Regions from separate parts of the Homo sapiens genome. Here region 2 is linked to region 1. The links are contacts of gene promoters, found by promoter capture Hi-C in human tissues and cell types (Jung and others, 2019). All regions are on one chromosome and are shown on one strand. Each heading gives the region's core, a stretch centred on a gene start or on the middle of the fragment in contact. The rest is flanking DNA. Distances are from core to core; before and after follow the strand shown. Region 1 holds the start of NADSYN1 (NAD synthetase 1). Region 2 overlaps SHANK2 (SH3 and multiple ankyrin repeat domains 2).

Region 1 (5,176 bases), core at 1,797-4,296:
CTAAGGAGAGAAATCAATCTAATGAAGGAAAGAAACTTGGAAGGACTTAGAGAAAGATGCCTCTGGACTCACACAAAACCTCCTAAGAGAAGACAGTTCCTGCTTACTCTAAGTCCAGAAGCAAGAACACACACTAAGGCAGGGGACAAAGACTGAAGAGGAACTTCCAGATCCCACAACGGGTCAGAGGCCTAAAGACCAACGGGAAACTAGCAGAGCACAGATGGCAGCTGACATCCAAAATGAGAAAGGACTATCGCTTACAAGAGACTTACAACGTGGCTACTCATTGTTTTGTTTTCATTTTTGTTTTTGTTTTTGAAGGGACAAGAAGGGAAATAAGCAATCAGTTTTCCTGATTTTTACAAAAAGGCATATAAGAAACGATAACCTATGCTTGCTTGTGGAAAGATTCTGAGATCACGGAATGAAAACCTGGGAATATGTCTTGGTCCTTCAGCCTGCTATAACAAAACACCTTGGACTGGGTAATTAATAAACAGCAGAAATGTATTGCTCACAGTTCTGGAGGCTGGGAAGCCCACGATCAAGGTGCTGGCAGATTTGGTATCTGGTAAGGACTGGTTGTCTCCTTCTCTGTGTCCTCACATGGTAGAAGGGGCCAACAAGCTCCTTTGGGCCTCTCTTGTAAGAGCACTAATCCCATTCATGCAGGCTCCACTCTCATGCCCTCATGACCCAATCACCTGCCAAAGGCCTCATCTCTTAATTCCATCATCTGGGGGTTAGGTTTCAACATATGAATTTTGTGGGGACGCAAACATTCAGACCACAGCAAAAGGGCAGTGGTAACACAGAAGCAGCCCAACTTTGAAACTGGCCTTCATCTGGTAAAAGTCAGTTCTTTTAATTACTCAACATGGGAATCTAGACTTATTCAGCCTCCCTGGGCCTGCCCTTGCTCAGGTGTTCAATGGCATTAACCAGGCCCAACAGTGGGTGTGGCGTGTCCACAGCTCTCAGGACTGTCCCTGCTCCTTCCTTGCCTTCTCAGCTGGGGAAAACTGATGCTGGTATCGCTAGCTGACGACCCCAGGGTGTCTGTGTCTGTTCTCACCATATTTCCAGCTCTGGTCCAAGCCTGTATCTTGCTCCTCTGTTTTTGGCAATTTCAATACCTGTAAGTACAGAGAGAAAAAGAAAATGGAGCAATTTCAGCACCTATACACTCAAAGACAGATGAAACAACCTGCTGCAGTAGGTAGGATAAAAAAAAAAACAAACAACAAACAAAAATGCTCTGTGCCTTCCCAGACGGGATGCAGTCAGGCTTCCTGTTGACAGCATGGCAGCAGAGGGCAGCATACACCTGTATACACCTGTATACACGAGTACGCCTGCACCTGCTTATACTTGCATATACCTGCTTATATCTGCAGGAAATGAGAAACAGGGAGGGCTTGCAGGTCTGACCCTTAGCACCATGGAGGAGGCGGAGGAAGAGGAAGAAGTCAGACCCTGGTAGTTTATTAACAAGGAAATGCCCAACACCATCTAGAGGAAAAAGGACTTAGAGGATTACGATCCAGCAGTGGTGCCACTGTCAGGCACCATCGGCTTACTGGTCTTGGGCAGCAGCTTCCAACAAGCACCTAGGGAGGAGAGGCTGGCAGAGTGGAAACTTAGTTTTGGCCAAGCCTTCTTCAGTTCAACTAGATTTGCTCTGAGCAAATGAGGTGAAAGCAGGTTGATATTTAAAAAATAAAAATAAAAAACCACTGGCTGCGGTGGCTCATGCCTGGAATCCCAGCACTTTGGGAGGCCAAGGCAGGTGGATCACTTGAGGTCAGGAGTTCGAGGCCAGCATGGCCACCATGGTGAAACCTTGTCTCTACTAAAAATACAGAAATTGGCCATGCATGGTGGCAGACGCCTGTAATCCCAGCTACTCAGGAGGCTGAGGCAGGAGAATCGCTTGAGCCCAGGAGGCAGAGACTGCAGTGAGCCAAGATGACACCACTGCACTCCAGCCAGGGCAACAGAGTGACAGTCCATGTCAAATAATAATAATCATAATAATAATCCAGGGCACATACTGATTAGATGCCATCTCTTGAAACATTCTGTTTCTATTGTTCCTGGCAAAGGCTCTTGCAGTCAGCAGACCAGTGCAAGACAAGCTGCAACCTGACTACACCTGCAGGCTTGCCCATTTAGGTGCAGGTGTAATAGTTTAACTTTTCATCCTCCACGGTGCGTCCATATGAACGAAAATTAGATGGTGACCTTTCAACAACCACACCCTATCTTCGAGGCCACCACGCCCGGCTGATTTTTGTATTTTTAGTAGAGACGGTGTTTCACCATGATGGCCAGGCTGGTCTTGAACTCCTGACCTCAGGTGACTTCCACCCCCTCCGGCCCCCCCAAAATGCTGGGATGACAGGCGTCTTTTTCTACTTCCCTTTCTGGGACGCCTTCTCCCACCAGGAAGGCCCACGGGGACCAGAGACCATCAATCTCTGGCCTCTGCACACCATCCCCGCCAGTGCGCAGCCATTCTGTTCAACTTAGATATCTCCGAGAATGGGCAGCTCAGTCCCAACCACGGGACCCCAGAGATATCAGAACACGGGTCCATCCCCAGGCCTCCCGCCTAAGCCGCCAGACTTTTCTTAACCGTGCCTTGTATATCGCTCGTCCCCGGGAACTATAAACACTCACTTCCCGACGAGGACCTGAGCACGTACCACTGGCGGGGTCATTGCCCATTATCTCACCTGATCCCATGCCCAGGGCCGAGAGTTTCCCAGGGCAAGGCTGTGAGCACGCCACGGGCAAGCCTGGGCCCAGCCACGGTGCCCGTGCGCCACCCCAAACCGGTGCCCCCGCCGCCCCAGACTCACTCTTTAAAATTCTTTGCAAATTGCCCTCGAAGTCCAGGGCCCACTGGTTGAGTGCGCAGGTGGCCACGGTCACCTTCCGGCCCATCCTGGCCGCAGTCGCTTGGGCAGGAGGCCAGCGGGGGACAGCAAGACCAGGGTCCCAGCGAGGTAGGCGGCTGGGACGCCGGACCTTCCGGGTTGCCCGGCCCCGCCCCCTCCCCGCCCATCCGTTGAGGCTCCGGCCAAGGAGGACTGCGGCGTCAGGCCCTGCCTACGGATCGCCCCGCCCCGTCTGAGGAGCTCACGACCGCGCCTGCGCAGCGAGGTGGCCTCAGCGTTCACGGCACCGCGAAGGGCCCCGCCCCCGCCCCGGCTCCACCCACGTCCCAGGCCCCGGCCCCGGCCCGGCCCTTGCGGGCAAACCCGTTCAGGTGCACAGGTGCAGGGGGCTCACCGCCCAGCTGCAGCACCCCTCTATTTTATCCCACACCGCCACCCCACATCCAGCTTAGCCATGTTTTATTTTAATACGGCATGAAACGTTCCAAATACACCAAAAGTGGAGAGTACGGTAGGAGCGCTCCATCGTGCCCGCGGGACAGCAGACGATAGCAATCGATTCTCCGTGCTGGGAATCCCGCCACCCTGGGCGGATGGCGCTGAATTCTTGGGAACCCTCTCCTGCCCCTTTCACTCCTGTACCACGTGTGTAAGTAGCTCAGGTAGCGCACTGTTTGCCTTTTCTGAAACTACAGGAACTGCACTTGAATGTGCTTCTGCAACTTGATTTTTTCCCCTGTAATATGAGATACGTTCTTTTAATTATTTTTCTGCAGTTTGGTATTCCATAGTGGCAGTAAAGCAGGTTTATTCAATAGCGGATGGGCATTGACGTTATTAGCAGCGTTTTGCCAACAGACGCACGCACACAGGCACTGCTGCAATTTCCTTTCCGGCAAGGTTTCCTTCGTGACCTCGTTCCGCCAGTTCCTGCAGCAGCTTTGCAGAGTAGTAGGGTTCGTGCTGTTTGACTTTACTAAATATTGCCAAGTCTCTTCTCCAGGGCGCTTGCACCGATTCACTACCAGCGGTTTCTCACTTTTTATTTTTTCACATTTCCTCTTTAGTCCACCCACGGTAGAATCCATTTTTCCCCCATATAAATAACTGCCTCATCATCGTTGCTTGAAGAGGCCATCCTTCCTTCTGTCATTCATGTTAGTTTAAAAACACACAATTCACAAATTTGGAAAAAGAGAAGGCTTTATTTCTTGTAAACGGTCGTAGCCTGCAAGGTGGCGGCCATCTGTCTGAGGCTGGGAATCTGTCTCCAGCCAAGGCCAGAGACAGGCACGTCCAAGGAGGAGGGGTTGGGGCAGGAGCGCTATGCTGAAGGGATTGGCTAAACATACATATTCAACAGGTAACAGGAGGAGCTATGAATATTCATGAAGGTGGTCCTGACACATGCCCTCTTATTGAGCAAAGCATGTAATATATGACCCATGTTCACTTTGGGGTGGAGACTTAACATTTACACATCTTACAATTAGGGCCTTTATGGCAAAACGTCTTTTCAGGACACAAAGGCATGCAGGTGCATCATCTCTCTCTATTAACGGGTCAGCTGGTCGGCATGGTCAGCTGGTCGGTGGTCTCTTATTAGGAGAAAGTCACTGAAATCAGTCTCTTGTCCAATCACAGCTGCTATGGCTGGTGAAACAGAGTCAGTTAGTTGGCACCTAGTGGAGCTGCAATTGTTTTAATATTCCCTATCCCAAGGCTAGTGTGTGTTTGGCTAATAGAGAAACAGAAAGCCTTGTGGCTCTTAGAATATAGTTTATTCTCTAAGTGTGGGTTGCCTGACTTACCCTCGCCTAGCATGGCTTTGGGTCCTGTTTATAATTTGGTATCTTATTGCCACAGAGTCCGTTCTGTCAGTCTTACGATCTCTGTTTTAACATGAATGCCGGCCAGTTGTGGTGTCCAAACTCTGAAACAGGGGGCTATTACCAGGCGCATCTGACCTCCCATCCCATCATGTCTGGGAATTCAGTGTTGAGGTTTTTCTGGTGTCCCCTTGGTCAGGAGAAGGTCCCTTTGGTCAATGGGGGGCTTAGGATTTTATTTTTACCTTATGTACATATACCCGTTTTCACATTTTGAATCACTTTTTTTCCTGTCTATAAAGTAGTGCTTGTTCATGACAATTTGGAAACTCCACAAAAGCACCAGAATGTTATACATGCTAACTTATTTAATCCTCACAGTAGTTTTCATGCTTCTGAAATCCACACGATCTGCTCAAATTATCTCCTGCCAACAATGGC
Region 2 (5,176 bases), core at 675-3,174, 320 kb after region 1:
TAGGTGAGGCCTTGGGTGGTTGTGTACATGTGAACACCGTGGCCACCGCTGAGCCCAGCCCTCCTGTGACTTCTTCCCGGTCTGAGGATAAAAATCAGGTCCTCCCCGGCTGGGCACGGTGGCTCATGCCTGTAATCCCAGCACTTTGGGAGGCTGAGGCAGGTGGATCACCTGAGGTCAGGAGTCCGAGACCAGCCTGGCCAACATGGTGAAACCCCATCTTTACTGAAAATACAAACATTACCTGGGTGTGGTGGCTGAGGCACGAGAATTGCTTGAACCTGGGAGGTGGAGGTTGCAGTGAGCTGAGATTGTGCCATTGCACTCCAGCCTGGGTGACAAAAGTGAGACTCCATCTCAAAAAAAAAAAAAAAAAAAAACATATCCCCCCTAGTCTGGGCACACACCTATTGGAAGTGTGCAAGTCAGTGGATTCTTTTTCCTGAGGATTCCATGGCTCCATGGCTTCTCCTCGGTCTCTTTGTTTACAGGGGGATTTCACAGCTAAGCGCCTGGGGGGCAGCTGGGCAGCAATTCCGCTCCACAAGGACACCTAGTGCAGGCTCTGCTCATCCTTGTACCCCATCAGCCGGTACAACCGAGTGAATGCTGGGTATCTGGCTATGGAGTGAGTGAATTCATTTAAACCCTTGCCTCTGTGGGGTGAGGCGCCAATGGCTGTACAGAGCCTCAGAGGATGGGAGAGGGTCTTTGCTTGGAATCTTCTAGGGTGAGGGTCTTCAGGGACAGCCAGCCTGAGGTATGCACAAACTTGGTGTGTTGGCTCAGCAGAGAAGGCTGAGGGCTGCGGGAGCAGTGTGTGTGAGGCAGCAGAGGTGGGCGGTGGGCGTCCAGGTATAGGGTCATGACAAGGAGGCCATGGTTGTATTTGATGGGCAGAGGTTTGGTACAGAGCATGTGACATCGTTTATATTTGAAAAGGGTAATCTTGGCCTCTCTGGTGAGAGGAGAAGGATTAGAAGAGATGGGGGCTCCAGGTAAATGGTGCTGGAGGCTGGGACCCTGGGAAGTGCAGGGAAAGCTGGAGACCCACAGACGCTTCCCTATGACAAAGCCAGTGGGGCTGTCCTGGAGAGAGGGTTTAAGATGTGAGGCCTGCGTCTTTGCAGTTTCTCAGCTCATGCCTGTAATCCCAGCACTTTGGGAGGCCGAGGCGGGTGGAGTATTTGAGGTCAAGAGTTTGTGACCAGCCTGGCCAACATGGTGAAACTCCATCTCTACTAAAGATACAAAAATTAGCCAGGTGTGGTGATGCACGCCTATAATCCCAGCTACTCAGGAGGCTGAGGCAGGAGAATTGCTTGAACCTGGGAGGTGGAGGTTGCAGTGAGCCGAGATCGTGCCACTGTACTCCAGCCTGGGCGACAGAGCAAGACTCCGTCTCAAAAAAAAAAAAAAAAAATTGAGATGTAATATACATGCCATATAATTCACCCATTGGAAGTGTGCAAGTCGTTGGATTTTAGGAAATTCACGGATGAGTGAGCCCATCACCACTGTGAATCTCAGGAAGCTTCCATCCCCCCAAGAGGAAACCCCACCCCTGTTGGCAGTCACTTCCCCTTTCCCCCTCTCCCCTCCCCAGATGCCTGCTCTGGCCATCGTCAGTGATGGGGTGGCACCGCACGTGGACTGAGAGGGAAGCCTTGTCTCAGTTCTTTGCCTCTCCTGCTGGAGATGAGCCCCTCCCCTCCCACCTGTGCTGTGTCCAGTGCCCACTCCGGGCCTCCTGCCACGGAGGAGCTTTCTGCACTGTCAAGTCACCCAGTCCACCGAGAAAGGTAAAAGCTCTTTTATCCACGAATGTAGCCGGGTGCAGTGGTGCACAACTGTAATCCCAGCTACTCAGAAGGCTCAGGCAGGGGGATCACCTGGGCAACGTAATGAGACCCCTTCCCTAAAAAAAAAAAAAAAATACATAGTTTTCCTTTGGGCTGCCCTTTCAGTTTCAGATGTTTTGTTCCAGAATGTTCTCTCCCAGTTGCTTGTTAGCTAAATGAAATTCTTCTGGGATTATAGACTTAATTAGAAGTTTAGGTATATGTTGCCTTGACATGAGCACATTTTCTGCCCTAAAAGAAAAGTCATCAAAAAGGACTTGGGCAGAAGATGGTAACATGATAATGGTCTTTATTCAAAAACTTTGAGTCCATGGAGTGTGGCCCAACACTGACTCCAGCCTAACCAGGGAGGCCCCCTAGACCACCCCTCCACTCTACGCTTCCACCCACCTACCCACCCATCCCCTGACCCTCCAATCCATCCACATCCCCCCTCCACTCACTCATCCGTCTATCTATCCATCCAGCCAGCCAGCCTGCCTGCCTGTCTGCCTGCCATCCATCCGTCCGTCCATCCCTCTGTCTCTCTCTCCCTCCCTCCCTCCGTCTGTCCGTCCGTCCCTCCCTCCCTCCCTCCATCTGTCCATCCATCCTTCCCTCCATCTGTGCATCCACCCAGCCACCCACCTACCCAGCCAGCCAGCCAGCCAGCCATGCATCCTCCCAGCCACCCACCTACCCAGCCAGCCAGCCAGCCAGCCAGCCAGCCGTCCGGCCGGCCATCCATCCATCCATCCATCCATCCATCCATCCATCCATCCATTCATCTGTGCATCCACCCAGCCACCCACCTACCCAGCCACCCATCCATGCATCCACTCATCCTCCTACCCACCTCACCCCTCCCTCCCTCCCTCCATCCACTCATTCACCCATCTATCCATTCTCTTGATTATAGAAATACATGGTTAGGATCTTTGGTCTCCACTTTGAGTAGCCCCGCCATGTCCTTTGTAGTATGCATTTGGATTACCTCTTGGGGAGGTAGAAGGCATGGAATCTGATTGTGGTTTCATTAACTGGTTGCTAAGACCAAAGAGAGTGCTGCTCCCCAGCCCCTCAGCCTTCCCTCTGCCTCCACTGTCTCTGTAATACAACAATGAAAACTAGCCTACCTGTCCTTAAGAGGAGTGGTTTACACTTGACTATTTTAGTCAAGAAACTGGTGAGTTACAAATTGTTTAGAAAAAAAGGGAAGGCTGTGGGGCCTTCCAATGAAAGTTGCCATGGAAAGTCAAGCCTTGATCATATTGGTTATTATTCACGTCACAGGGCATCCTCGATAAAGGCAGAGAAGGACTTTGTTTTCTTACACGTCATTTAAAGCAAATATTGTAAGGATTATATGTGGACCCTTCCTCTGTTACGTATTGGGTTCGTGCTTTGTATATGGGAGAGATTGGCCCAGTTTGCAGGGTCTCCGTAGCCTGCACATAAAACGTCTTGACTTGAGGTGCTCTTCATCGTTGGCTTAGAGTTAATGCCTACTTAAATCTCATGGAGAAAACAATGTACGGGAAAAGTGACTTTGGTCTGGAATTACTACAAGTTCTGTAGCAAAGCTCTGTAAATCCCACAGTGTAGGGGGAGTATTGTGGTTTGGGGCCATGCTGGTGAGGAGCAGCCGTCCCCTCTTTGCTGGCATCCCAAGCTGGTAAGGCTTATCCAGAGGGTGGCAATACCAGGGCCGCAGATCATCAGTTTTTACTTTTCTGTGTTAAATCCAAGGGTGAGGCTTTTTTCCAGCATCTTTGCTCTGAGGTTGGACCTGGGCGATTCCTCCAGCCTGGCTCCGACTCTGCCTCCCCGCCAGCCTCCACCCTTCCCTCGCTGCTCTCCCTTCTGGGCGGACAAGGCCTCCCACACCACAGCTTCTGAGCAGCATCTGCGTCCCGGCAGCAGCCTCACCTGCCTCTGTGGCCTCGTCGCTAATCCACTTTCTGACCTCCTGCTGGCTTAATCTTCCTGACTCATGGCTCCGTCTGTGTGCTGCCAGGATCGAGTTGGACTCATTAGCTCGGCCTCGGGGACCCCCTTAATCCCTGCTCCTCCTCTTGCAGCTGTGTGGCTCTGGGAATGATCTGGCATTTTTGGAGCATTCCTCTTTGGGCCTGGGGGTGCTAATGCGGCCTCCCGGAGAACATAAGGAAGAGATGATGTGTTTAACATGCTTACGAGCCAGGCTATGGGCACATAGTAAGTGTTTTGTGTCTGCAGTCAGGACTTTTTAATTATAACCCCCCTTCCATGGCTGACTTACTTCACTTCAATTTATTGCTTCTAAAGGGACTTCTCTGGCCAGCATCTGATCTCTGCTTTACAATGGCTCTGCCTGAAATCATGGCTATGAAAAGAGGAAGATTAAGTCACCCCCAAGGAGTCCATGGACCACTGGCAGAACCAAGCAGTGTCTCCCAGTTTAGCATCACCTTGACAATAGCAGAGACAGACAGGCAGCCTCTTACTAATCGCCTGGAGATACAGTCTGCCCACCGCTTCGCCACAGCATCCAGCGGCTGCCATGAAGCTTTCACTGTGCGAAAAATGTTCTGATTGGAAAAACGAATCCACAGCTCCGTTACCCTTTATTGGCGTTTAAACATGCAGAAGCACTAAGCCTGACTCTTGGACCTCAGCACCCCCCGACTAGGCTGTCCTTCTGAGTCGAGGTCACCCCACATTTCCCTGTTCCATTGACATGTCTGATTTCAGCTTCGTGTGTTACCCGTGCCGGGGTTTTAGTGTTTGCCACCACGAGCACCAGCCCAATGGGCCTCTGTCCGCAGTAAGAAGTATTATTTCATTTGGATAATTGCATTTGGGAATAAACCAATTGTAGTTTGGGGTGACCTTGATGTTGGTTATTTGTTGGAGGTGTGCAAGTACACGGATTGCACGTGAACAGCTATCAAAGACCCGAAGACGCCTGCGCGCACCTTTCCGTGGCCCCTGCCAAGCTTGTGTTTATGACGGGTCCTTAAAAATGCATCATGCAGAACTTGATGATGACAGAAACCGTAGCTGCAGAGGAAATTCTGAATGTGAAATGCGCTTCTTTGTAATGAATGACGTGCTCAGAAACTTGGAGTTTTTTCCGGCTTTCCTAAGTTCTTGCTGAACGCTGCTTACATGCGTTTGCAGAGCTGGCATCTTGATCGTCCCCGGGGTCTGCGTTTCTGGCTCCAGATCCTGAATAGGGAATATCCCTGTGGGGCCACGACCTGAGATGCTCTGGCATTTCCTCCCCCTTGTTCTCTTGGCTTTTCCTGGGCTCCTTGGGTAGAAGTCAAGAGGAAGGTGGATGTAAGTCTCAC

The links. The method cuts DNA at HindIII sites, captures the fragments that hold promoters and counts their contacts. A contact is called where the count stands out against the background at its distance.
Region 2: a fragment that was not itself captured here is called in contact with the fragment with the promoter of NADSYN1 in region 1 in 1 of the 25 tissues and cell types used here (H1 embryonic stem cells).

What each region holds. Positions count from the first base shown.
Region 1 is chr11:71,451,073-71,456,248 of GRCh38, reverse strand. It overlaps NADSYN1 (NAD synthetase 1), which reads right to left and starts at 3,046. Exons shown (of 21, transcript NM_018161.5): 1 at 2,868-3,046; 2 at 1,079-1,139. The coding sequence starts at 2,952. It overlaps DHCR7-DT (DHCR7 divergent transcript), which reads right to left. Exons shown (of 2, transcript NR_186309.1): 2 at 4,092-4,559. RefSeq lists enhancers at 1,889-2,388, 2,389-2,890, 4,128-4,207, 4,328-4,377 and a silencer at 2,948-3,317. The HindIII fragment of the contact is 4,997 bases long and covers 1-4,539 here.
Region 2 is chr11:71,130,687-71,135,862 of GRCh38, reverse strand. All of the region lies in intron 3 of SHANK2 (SH3 and multiple ankyrin repeat domains 2), which reads left to right. Among named protein-coding and RNA genes, the nearest start is that of SHANK2, 120 kb to the left of the region's middle. The HindIII fragment of the contact is 6,307 bases long and covers 1-5,077 here.